3 separate regions of the Homo sapiens genome follow, and all the other regions are linked to region 3. The links are contacts of gene promoters, found by promoter capture Hi-C in blood cells and fetal thymus (Javierre and others, 2016). All regions are on one chromosome and are shown on one strand. Each heading gives the region's core, a stretch centred on a gene start or on the middle of the fragment in contact. The rest is flanking DNA. Distances are from core to core; before and after follow the strand shown. Region 1 has its middle 20 kb from the start of TMEM132E-DT. Region 2 has its middle 39 kb from the start of TMEM132E-DT. Region 3 holds the start of CCT6B (chaperonin containing TCP1 subunit 6B).

Evidence for each region. The method cuts DNA at HindIII sites, captures the fragments that hold promoters and counts their contacts. A CHiCAGO score of 5 or more calls a contact.
Region 1: a fragment that was not itself captured here is called in contact with the fragment with the promoter of CCT6B in region 3 in 3 of 17 cell types (M1 macrophages, M0 macrophages and total CD4 T cells); the score reaches 7.1 in M1 macrophages.
Region 2: a fragment that was not itself captured here is called in contact with the fragment with the promoter of CCT6B in region 3 in 4 of 17 cell types (M2 macrophages, activated CD4 T cells, total B cells and 1 more); the score reaches 6.9 in M2 macrophages.

What each region holds. Positions count from the first base shown.
Region 1 is chr17:34,557,971-34,561,560 of GRCh38, forward strand. No RefSeq gene overlaps it. Among named protein-coding and RNA genes, the nearest start is that of TMEM132E-DT, 20 kb to the right of the region's middle. The HindIII fragment of the contact is 255 bases long and covers 1,483-1,737 here.
Region 2 is chr17:34,538,794-34,541,974 of GRCh38, forward strand. No RefSeq gene overlaps it. Among named protein-coding and RNA genes, the nearest start is that of TMEM132E-DT, 39 kb to the right of the region's middle. The HindIII fragment of the contact is 6,842 bases long and covers 1-3,181 here.
Region 3 is chr17:34,959,477-34,962,732 of GRCh38, forward strand. It overlaps CCT6B (chaperonin containing TCP1 subunit 6B), which reads right to left and starts at 1,984. Exons shown (of 14, transcript NM_006584.4): 1 at 1,781-1,984; 2 at 111-174. The coding sequence starts at 1,917. ZNF830 (zinc finger protein 830) reads left to right here and starts at 2,064. Exons shown (of 1, transcript NM_052857.4): 1 at 2,064-3,256. The coding sequence starts at 2,091. The coding sequence ends at 3,209. RefSeq lists a silencer at 1,514-1,808 and enhancers at 1,528-1,577, 1,678-1,897, 1,948-2,027, 2,108-2,357. The HindIII fragment of the contact is 8,368 bases long and covers 1-3,256 here.

The DNA.
Region 1 (3,590 bases), core at 360-2,859, 400 kb before region 3:
ATAATAGTCTAGCATGTACAATTATGTATAGTACATAATATTTGATAATGATAATAAAGGACTGTGTTGATGGTTTATCTATTTACTATACCATGCTTTTTATCGTTAGAGTGTACACCTTCTACTTATTAAAAAAAATGTTTACTGTAAAACAGTATGCTGTGTTACTCCAGCAGCAGCCTCATATATCTCGTTTACTGCACTTCTTGATTGCACTGTTTTCTCTTGTGCTTGATTTAACCTCACAATGTTTTGTTCATCATAGCCCCAAAGTGAACAAAATCCACTGCTAATGTTGCCAGTAAGAGGCCACATCAAGTGATTGTCCTGGAAACAAAATTAAAAGTGATTAAGGACTATGAAGGTGGAGAATCAGTGATGGTTACTGCTCATCAGTCAGGCATGTGTCATTCCACCATAGCTACAATCTTGAAGAACAAGATCAAAGTGACAGAAGCTGCTAAAGGATCTGCTTCATTGAAGGCAATGATACTAACAAAAGTTCTAAAAGGGCCCATATCAGATAGACAGAAATTTCTAATGACTTGATTTGAAGACTAGACACAGAAGCCTATCCCTCCCAGCACCGTGATGATCACTGCCAAAGCAAAAATTTCGTGATGTTGAAAGAAGATGCTGGACCCAACTATGATGTTGAATTTACTGTTAGCCCCGGGTGGATTAAATGATTCAAGAATCATTATTTATTACATTCTGTGAAAGTGAGTGGTGAGTTTTCAAGTGCTGATGTGATGGCAGCTGAAGAATTTTTGAAAACTCTGGCAATCTGATCGTGGAGGAAAATTACTTGCCAGAGCAAATCTTCAATATGGATGAAAGCTGCCTATTCTGGAAATGGATGCCTGAAAGGACTTTAATCCTAAAGAAGGTCAAGTCAATGCCAGATTTCAAGACTTTTAAGGACAGGATGACAATCTTGCTTGGGGACAATGTTGCAGGCCACAAATTGAAACCCTTTGTGATCTGGGACAGTGAGAACCCCAGGGCCTCAAGCATATCAATAAGCACACATGGCCAGTGTACTTCAGGAGCAATAATAAGTCATGGATGACCCAACTCCTCTTCCAAGACGCCCCCTTGAGTTGCTATGCCAGCAAAATAGAGAAATGCTGTTTGGAGAATAACATACATTTCAAGATTTTGCTTATTGTTGATAATGCTCCCACACATCCCTCTTTTATTGGTGATCTTCATTTCAATATCAACGTGGTCTTTCTGTCTCCAAACACCACCTCTTTGATTCAACCAATGGAGAAACGAATTATAGCAGCTTGTAAGACCTACTGCTCAGGGAAGATCTTTGTTCAGGCTATTGCTACAACTAAGGAAGGCACTGAGAAGATATTGACGCAATTCTGGAAAAATTACATCTTTGCATCGTGAACCTTGCTTGGGCTTAAGTGATGTCATCAATGAGTGTATGAATGGCATCTGGAAGAAGACACTCAAGAGGTTTATCCAAGCTTCAAAGGATTTTCCAAGCATAAGGGGATTAAAAATCAACAAGGCTGTGGTTGAAATGGCAAACAGCTTCAACCCGGGTGTGGATGAGGATGACATTGAGGAGCTCTCAGAGGTGGTTAATGAAGAATTGACTAAGGAGGAATTGTTGGAACTGGAACAGGATCACATAGCTGAAGAAGAGGCAAGAAAAAGGGAAAGTACAGGAGAAGAAAAAGAACCCTGAAGAAAATTCACAGTGAGGAGTTTAGCAGAAGCTTTTGCAGACCGCAACAAGCTCCTTAAAAGGTTTGAAAATGTAGACCCTAACAACAAAAGGTTTGCATTAATAGAGAGGAATGTTCATGGTGCATTATTTGCTTACAAGCAAATCTATGATGAAAAAAGAAAACAACCAAGCAAACTACCATGGATACGTTTCTGAAAAGAGTGACACTACCTCAGGAACAGCCTCAGGCAGGTCCTTCAGGAGGAATTCCAGGAGAAAGCACCATTATCACAGGAGATGACAGCTCTATACATGTTATTGCCCCTGAAGACCTTCCAGTGCAACAAGATGTGGAGGTGGAAGACAGTGATATTGATCATGCTGACCCTGTGTAGGCCCAGGCTAATGTGTGTGTTCATGTCTTCACTTTTAACAAAAAACTTTATGAAGTACAAAAGAAATAAAAAATTTTAAATAGGAAATCTCTTATAGATTAAGGATATAAAGAAAGAAGATATTTTGTACAGCTATACAACATTTGTGTTTTAAGCTGTTATTACAAGAGTCTGAAAGTTAAAAAAAAATTAAAAAGAGTTTACAAACTAAAGAAGTTACAGTAAGCTAAGGTTAGTTTATTACTGAAGAAAGAAAAATATTTTTAATAAATTTAATGTAGCCTAAATGTACAGTGTTTATAAAGTCTACAGTAGTGTACAGTACTGTCCTAGGCCTTCAAGTCCATTCACCACTCACTGATTGACTTACCCAGATCAGCTTCCAGTCCTCCACATGCCATTCATGGTAAGTGTTCCATACAGGTGTGCCATTCTCTATCTTTTATACTGTATTTATACCCTACCTTTTTTCTATGTTTGAATATGTTTAGATACACAAATACCACTGTGTTAAAATTGCCTACAGTATGCAACATGGTAATATGCTGCACAGGTTTGTAGCCTAGGAATAAGAGGTCATACTATATAGCCTAGGTGTGTAGTAAGCTATACCATCCAGGTTTCTGTAAGTACACTCCATGATGTGTGCACAACAATGAAATCACCTAATGATACATGTTTCAGAATGTATCTTCATCACTAAGCAACGCATGACTGCATATACTTTAAATAGCATGTCACACTCACACATAAGTGTGCACACACAGACATTTAACACTCATGAACTCACATAGCTCACACATCAGTTTACTTATTAAAGGCCCGAGAAACATCCTGCAGCATTACATGCTACCTTGCATATGCCACTTATCACCACTCAGGAGGCTTGAGACTATAAGTATAAACACTGTACATTTAGACTACATTAAATTTATTAAAAATATTTTTTCTTCAATAATAAACTAACCTTAGCTTACTGTAACTTGTTTAGTTTGTAAACTCTTTTTAATTTTTTTAACTTTCAGACTCTTGTAATAACAGCTTAAAACACAAACGTTGTACTACCATATAAAGTTTATATGGTAGTAATTAAGAGACTTACTCTGGAGTCAGATGGCCCGGGTTAGAATCCCAGTTCTGCTATTTATAATCTGATCTCGGAGGTGCTCATGAGAATTAAACGAGGTAATGAATGATGAACTTAGAATGGTATCAAGCACATGAAATGCACTCAATAAACCCTATAATTATTATACGGTTTGCAAATATTTACAGTGCCCATTTCACAGGTAAGGAAATTGAGGCCCAGAGAGTTGAAGTGATATGTCCAGAACCATAAGAATGATAATAAAGATGGCAGTGGTGGGGATAATTGTGGTGATGATGACAATAATGGTGACGATGGTGATGACAATGATGGTAGTGATGAAGATGATGGTGATGATTATGATGATGATACTGATGCTGGTAGTGATGATGATGGTGGTATTCATGGTGATGACAAT
Region 2 (3,181 bases), core at 347-2,846, 420 kb before region 3:
TAAAATTTTAAAAAATAATAATTAAAAAATTTCCTTAAAAAACCCAGATGCATAGAGAATACATAGACAGCAAAACTATTTAACTATTAAGCATGTAGGCCAAATGCAGGGCATTTGGGCATAGGGAAAACAGCAGACAGACTAACAGTGGATGATGGGAGGATAGATGGATTGGCAGAATTAAGATTTGTTGAACACCTAACGTATGCCAAGCACTATGTAGGTTCTTTACATAGGTTATCTCATTTATCTCCAAGATAACCCTGGGCAGCAGGTATTCCTTCTCATTGTTACTGATGCTTACATATCTAAAGTCTGGAAAGACTATGTCAACCATGACATCCCTATCTACACATATGTAACATTTTCCAGAGTCTGCCTACTGCCATCTAAACCAGATTATATGGGGAACATAGTTTCATAATATGCTTGTATGTAAAACCTTATTTACAGTTGGCATTTGATATTAACCTCTAGTTTCTCACTCAAGTAGAGGCTTATCCTTTTTACATGCACAAGAATACAATTTTCTTCTTTGTTTTCTCTTAAAAGATCAATAAACATCTTGTTTGCCCTTAACAAAAGTTATGTGAATTCTCTACAATCAGCACTTATTTCCTTTTATTAAGAGGATATTTCTACAGTTAACAATAAAGTTTAGTAACATTGGGTCTTTATGATCCAAAAACTCAATGACTGCACAACAGGGATATAATAACAATAATATCTACTATTTATTAAACCCCTCCTGCTTATGATCGGCTTCATAGGAGCGCTGTTTATCACTTCTTATTCCCATTTTTCAGAAGAAGAAACTAAGGCATAGTTTAGGTCAGGATTGGACGTAAGACCTTCCTGGCTCTGAAGCCCAAGCTCTCTGCCTGCCCTCACACTGTCTCTTACTCGGAGTGGTCCTTGGCACTCCCTGGAATGTCAGCAGGGTCCAGTGCACGCGCTCACGGTTCCCATTCTACCTAACTACTCTCATTCCACGTCAGAGTCGTGTTTCTCCAGGTCTCCTGCACCCTTCCATCAGCAGGACCCACCTTCCCTCCAGCTCCAACTTAACCCTGGGCTTAGAAGATGTGGCACAAGAACTTCAATGCTAAAGGTAGATGGTTGTTGACCTGGCTCAGGGTCAGCGGACTTCTTCTGTAAAGTGTAAGATAGCAAATATTTTAGGCTTTGTAAGATATACAGTCTGCATCACACTTACTCAAATCTGCTATTGTAGCACAAAGGCAGTCAGAGACAAATACATTACAAAATGGATGTGGCTGTGTTCCAATAAAACTTTATTGACAAAAACAGGTGGCAGGCCAGATTTGGGCCCCAGGCTGTAGTTTGCCAACCCCTCACCCATATGATCTCTAGGGTTTCTTTTCTTTTCTTTTCTTTTTGAAATGGAGTCTCACTCTGTTGCCAGGCTGGAGTGCAGTGGCACAATCTCGGCTCACTGCAACCTCCACCTCCCGGGTTCAAGTGATTCTCCTGCCTCAGCCTCCCGAGTAGCTGGGACTACAGGCGCCCGCCACCATGCCCAGCTAATTTTTGTATTTTTTAGTAGAGATGGCGTTTCACCACATTAGCCAGGATGGTCTTGATCTCTTGACCCTGTAGATCCACCTGCCTCGGCCTCCCAAAGTGCTGGGATTACAGGCGTGAGCCACCGCACCCAGCCTGATCTCTAGGGTTTTTGTTAACCCGCTGGTGTTCCGTGGCTTATGTATGAGAGAAAGGCCTAGACTAAAGATTGAAAAATGGTGATCCGAGGCCACATCCAGCCCGCTGACAGGTTTTGTTCGACCCAGAGTGTTTATTTTTGTGATGATTTTTTAAAACATACCCAAAAGCAAAGACGAGCATAATTAACCTGCATATACATACCATCCAGCTTCCCTATCACCATTTTGTCAATCTCATCTCATCTATCCCCAACACACCTTTTAGTTTCTGAAATATTTTAAAGCAAATCCAGACATTATATTATCTCACCCATAAATACTTCAGTGTGTCTCTCTAGCAGACAAAGACTTTTTAAAACCGTAACCACAAAACCATTATCACCCTAACAAAATGAAGAATAATTCCTTATTAGTGTCTATTTAAATTTTCCTAATTGTCTCAAAAATGTCTTTTTACAGGTGGTTTGTTTGAATCCAAATAAGGTCTATGCATTGTATTCATACAGAGCTTTTAAATTTTTGAATTAGTTGTCAACATGTGAAAATCTGGATTTCACATAAACATCAGGTTTTCAGCTTGTCTTGAAAAAAACCTGGAAGATCTTGCAACTTTGCCGCCTCCTTCCCCAGCAGCAGGAGATCAGTCGGCACACAATTTAGACAATGACCTGCCTTCTCCTGCCCCCACTATGGCCCCCACATTGTCACCCCTTCAACAGAATCCCTGAGGGCATTAGAGTTTGCCATTTCTACTTTTGCCGATCCACTCGCTCCCTCTCCCCTCCTATACAAAGTCACTCGAGCCATTCCCTGGCCTACTTTGCCCTCCACCTATGCCAAAGCTGCCCCTTTATCATTATTTTTCCTCCTTCAAAGCAAATTTTCAGAGTGTATCTGATTCCAGAAGGGTGAGCAGAGAAGAGGGATTTGCCCAGCATGATCAGCCACCCCTCTAGCCCCTTGGGGTGGCTGCTTACAGGGAATTCAGGAAAGCTCCCCAGACCCCCTACACACACACCCTCCCACGCTGGCTCAGTTTGTGCCTGTTGCTCACAGAGCACAGAAACCTTGCTTTCAGGTGGAAAGAGAACAAGCCTGCCTCAAATTTGCTGTGTGACCTTGAAGAAATCACTCTCCCTTTCTGGGCCTCAATTGCCCCTTTTATACAATGAAGGAGTTCATGAGGGGGAAGGTCGGGGAAGAGGATGGTCCAAATTGAATTGCCAGGTGAGACATGAACATTCTGGAGCGGACAACCTTGTGATCCTGGGATTCTGTTGGCCGTACACGGCCTCTTCACCTCATCACTAGGATGGCCAAGGGAGGAGGGAGAGGGGAGGGGACATGAAATGGATCAAGAGCAAGGCCAGGAGAGGTGCCACCTTCAGGTCTGAGCAGGAGGGGGAAATAACACACACCCCTACTTTCCCTTCCACCTTCTCAGGCCATCATCTTCTGACTGTGGGTGCACATTGGTTCATGATTCTCTTTCCCTT
Region 3 (3,256 bases), core at 734-3,233:
CTCAAGACTGCAGTATTTAGCTCACAGCCTTGGCTTAAAGATACACAAGTTCTACTATGCTTCTAATTAAGGCTTATTAAGGTTTATTAAAGTCAGCAGCATCAGCTCACCATCTCATCGAGCAGCACATTGCCATCTTTGGTGAGTTTGATGTCACCTGCACCAGAAACAAGCCTGTTCAGAGAAGAATGATATTAACTTCATGTGGTAGGAAGACATTCCCAGTGCTTGCCACTCCATTATCCTTAATAGAGGGAACTGGGCTCGGAAAACTTCCACTGTACCATGGGAATATGCCATGGTAATTACCACCATTTGCAGCTCACAGAATCATTTCTCCCCAGATGGACAGATTATGGAGATTTCATTCCAAATGGACTATTTACAGGTTTAAAGATAAAAGCACTTGATGAGTTACGAACTGTGGTTTGGTCAAAGAATACTTGGAAGTCTACAAAGCACAAATTCGCAAATTTCCTGCAGGTTTTAATTTTGGTGAATGTTTTCATTCATTCAGTCACTCAACTTAGTTTCCCTCATCCCTGCATTTATTAGATCACCAAGTTCTATCAATTCTACTACCTAAATATCTCTTGAATCTGCCACCTTCTCTCCATCTCCACTGTTATCATCTCTACTTTGGATGGCATCCGGATATCTCCAAACTTAAATATACCCTCCACACATTTTTCTTTCTAAAAGGCAACGTGATTCAGTCAGTTCCCTGATCAAAAGTCCTCCAATGATTTTTATGTTTTCCATCATTTTCAAGTTAAAATCCAAACACAGCAATGACATACTTGACCTTTCCCAATATCTTCCCTGCCTCATCTACTTTTCCACAAGCAAATCTTCTGGTTCCCTTAATATACCATGTTTTGTTTCGTTTCTGTTGGATTTGCACCATTGGTCTTTCTTATTCCTGAAATTACTTTGCCCAGGCCTTTACTCCCTCTTCCAACTAGTGAAGTCTTATTCTTCTTTCAAGACTGATCAAACATGTTACTTAAGATGCTTTTCCTTCTGCCATCAGTCCCTTTCTTCAGCATAATTATATGCATCTATATATAATTAGCACATCCTACTCTACCACATCCGTCTCTACCACATCTCCTTAAGAACAGAAACCGTTATCTTGATCATTTCTGTGTCCCAACAACTGGTACCTAAGTGACTTATTTTACCATTAATATTATTTTGTTCATTACTATGAGGATGTGTCTCTCCTCTTATACCCTTTTGCCCTCACTGGTCTCTTTTCCTCACTCTTGTCTATAGAAAAGGGTGCTTAATATATACTGAAAAGATGAATAGATCTGAACAACCATAGACACGGGGTATTCAAGTAGAACTTGGATTTGACCCCATGCCTTCCTGGCTCCAAAGCCTGTGTCCTCTCCACTACAATACATTGCCATACAAAAAACAAAACTACTTGTTGAATTTATGGACCAAGGGTATACAGTCTTAAGGAGCAGAGGAGTTAAATGCTTTGTTTCCAATGAGACACTAAATTAACTGACTTTCTAACTGCATATGAACCTTGACGACAAGTCGGGGGTCGGGGAAGCGCCACAGCTTCACTCCCGGGGCCCTCTACTAGGGGAGGCTTTTCTCCTCCACCTGCACCAGGCGAGAAATACCCCCAGAGCAGGGATGAGAATGAGGGAAATCAAGCTCGCAAGAACATCCACAGCGCTACGCGGACGCCTGCCTCAGAGGGCGACAGGACACCAACGGGCCCCTAGCCGCGTAATGGCCGCTCCAACCGCTGTCTCACATTTTCATGGTGCCTTTAGGACCCAAGTTGGTCCGCAGCACATCCTGCAGCCCTCGGGCGGCGCATATATTGACAGCCAAAGCTGCCCGGGCCCGCGCCACCTCAGCCTTGGAGTTGACGGCCTTTATCGCAGCCATAGCCTAACCGTTCAGAGGGAGAAAAAAAAAAAGCCTTAGTCGCGATTCTGAGCAAAAACGGCAATGCGACGCCACGCTCTCTTGAGCCTCGGCCAATCATCGCCCTTACAGGAAGTGACGTTATCATGCCTCGCCCGACGGAAACCAGAATCGTTTTGGGTCTGGTCGCCAAGATGGCGTCCTCCGCCTCCGCCCGGACTCCGGCAGGGAAGCGAGTGATAAATCAGGAAGAATTGCGGCGGTTAATGAAGGAGAAGCAGCGTCTGAGCACCAGTCGGAAACGGATAGAATCTCCATTCGCGAAGTACAACCGTTTGGGGCAGCTGAGTTGTGCCCTGTGTAACACTCCGGTTAAGAGCGAGCTCCTGTGGCAGACTCACGTCCTGGGAAAGCAGCACCGAGAGAAAGTGGCCGAGCTGAAAGGCGCGAAGGAAGCCAGCCAGGGTTCGTCCGCCAGTTCAGCGCCTCATTCCGTCAAGAGGAAAGCGCCGGACGCAGACGACCAAGATGTCAAGAGAGCGAAGGCCACCTTGGTGCCTCAGGTACAGCCCTCCACATCTGCGTGGACCACCAACTTTGACAAAATAGGAAAGGAGTTCATTAGAGCGACTCCCAGTAAGCCTTCAGGACTCAGTTTACTCCCCGATTATGAAGATGAGGAGGAGGAGGAAGAGGAGGAGGAAGGAGATGGAGAAAGAAAAAGGGGGGACGCCAGCAAGCCGCTCTCCGACGCACAGGGCAAGGAGCACTCAGTTTCCTCTTCACGGGAGGTAACAAGTAGTGTGCTGCCAAACGATTTCTTTAGTACTAATCCTCCCAAGGCCCCCATAATTCCTCATTCAGGGTCAATTGAGAAAGCAGAAATACATGAAAAAGTGGTGGAAAGGAGAGAAAACACCGCGGAAGCGTTACCGGAAGGTTTTTTTGACGACCCTGAGGTAGATGCAAGAGTACGAAAGGTTGATGCTCCAAAAGATCAGATGGACAAAGAGTGGGACGAATTCCAAAAAGCCATGAGGCAGGTCAACACTATTTCCGAAGCCATAGTTGCCGAAGAGGATGAGGAGGGACGGTTGGACCGCCAGATTGGGGAGATCGATGAGCAGATAGAGTGTTACCGACGGGTGGAAAAGCTACGGAATCGCCAGGATGAAATAAAAAATAAACTTAAAGAAATCCTGACCATAAAAGAACTGCAGAAAAAGGAAGAAGAGAATGCTGACAGCGATGATGAGGGGGAACTACAGGATTTGTTGTCTCAGGATTGGAGGGTGAAAGGGGCATTGTTATAGGGTTTTAAAGACCCAAGGTTTCTAACAGCCTCTGCTGTTGTATAAAA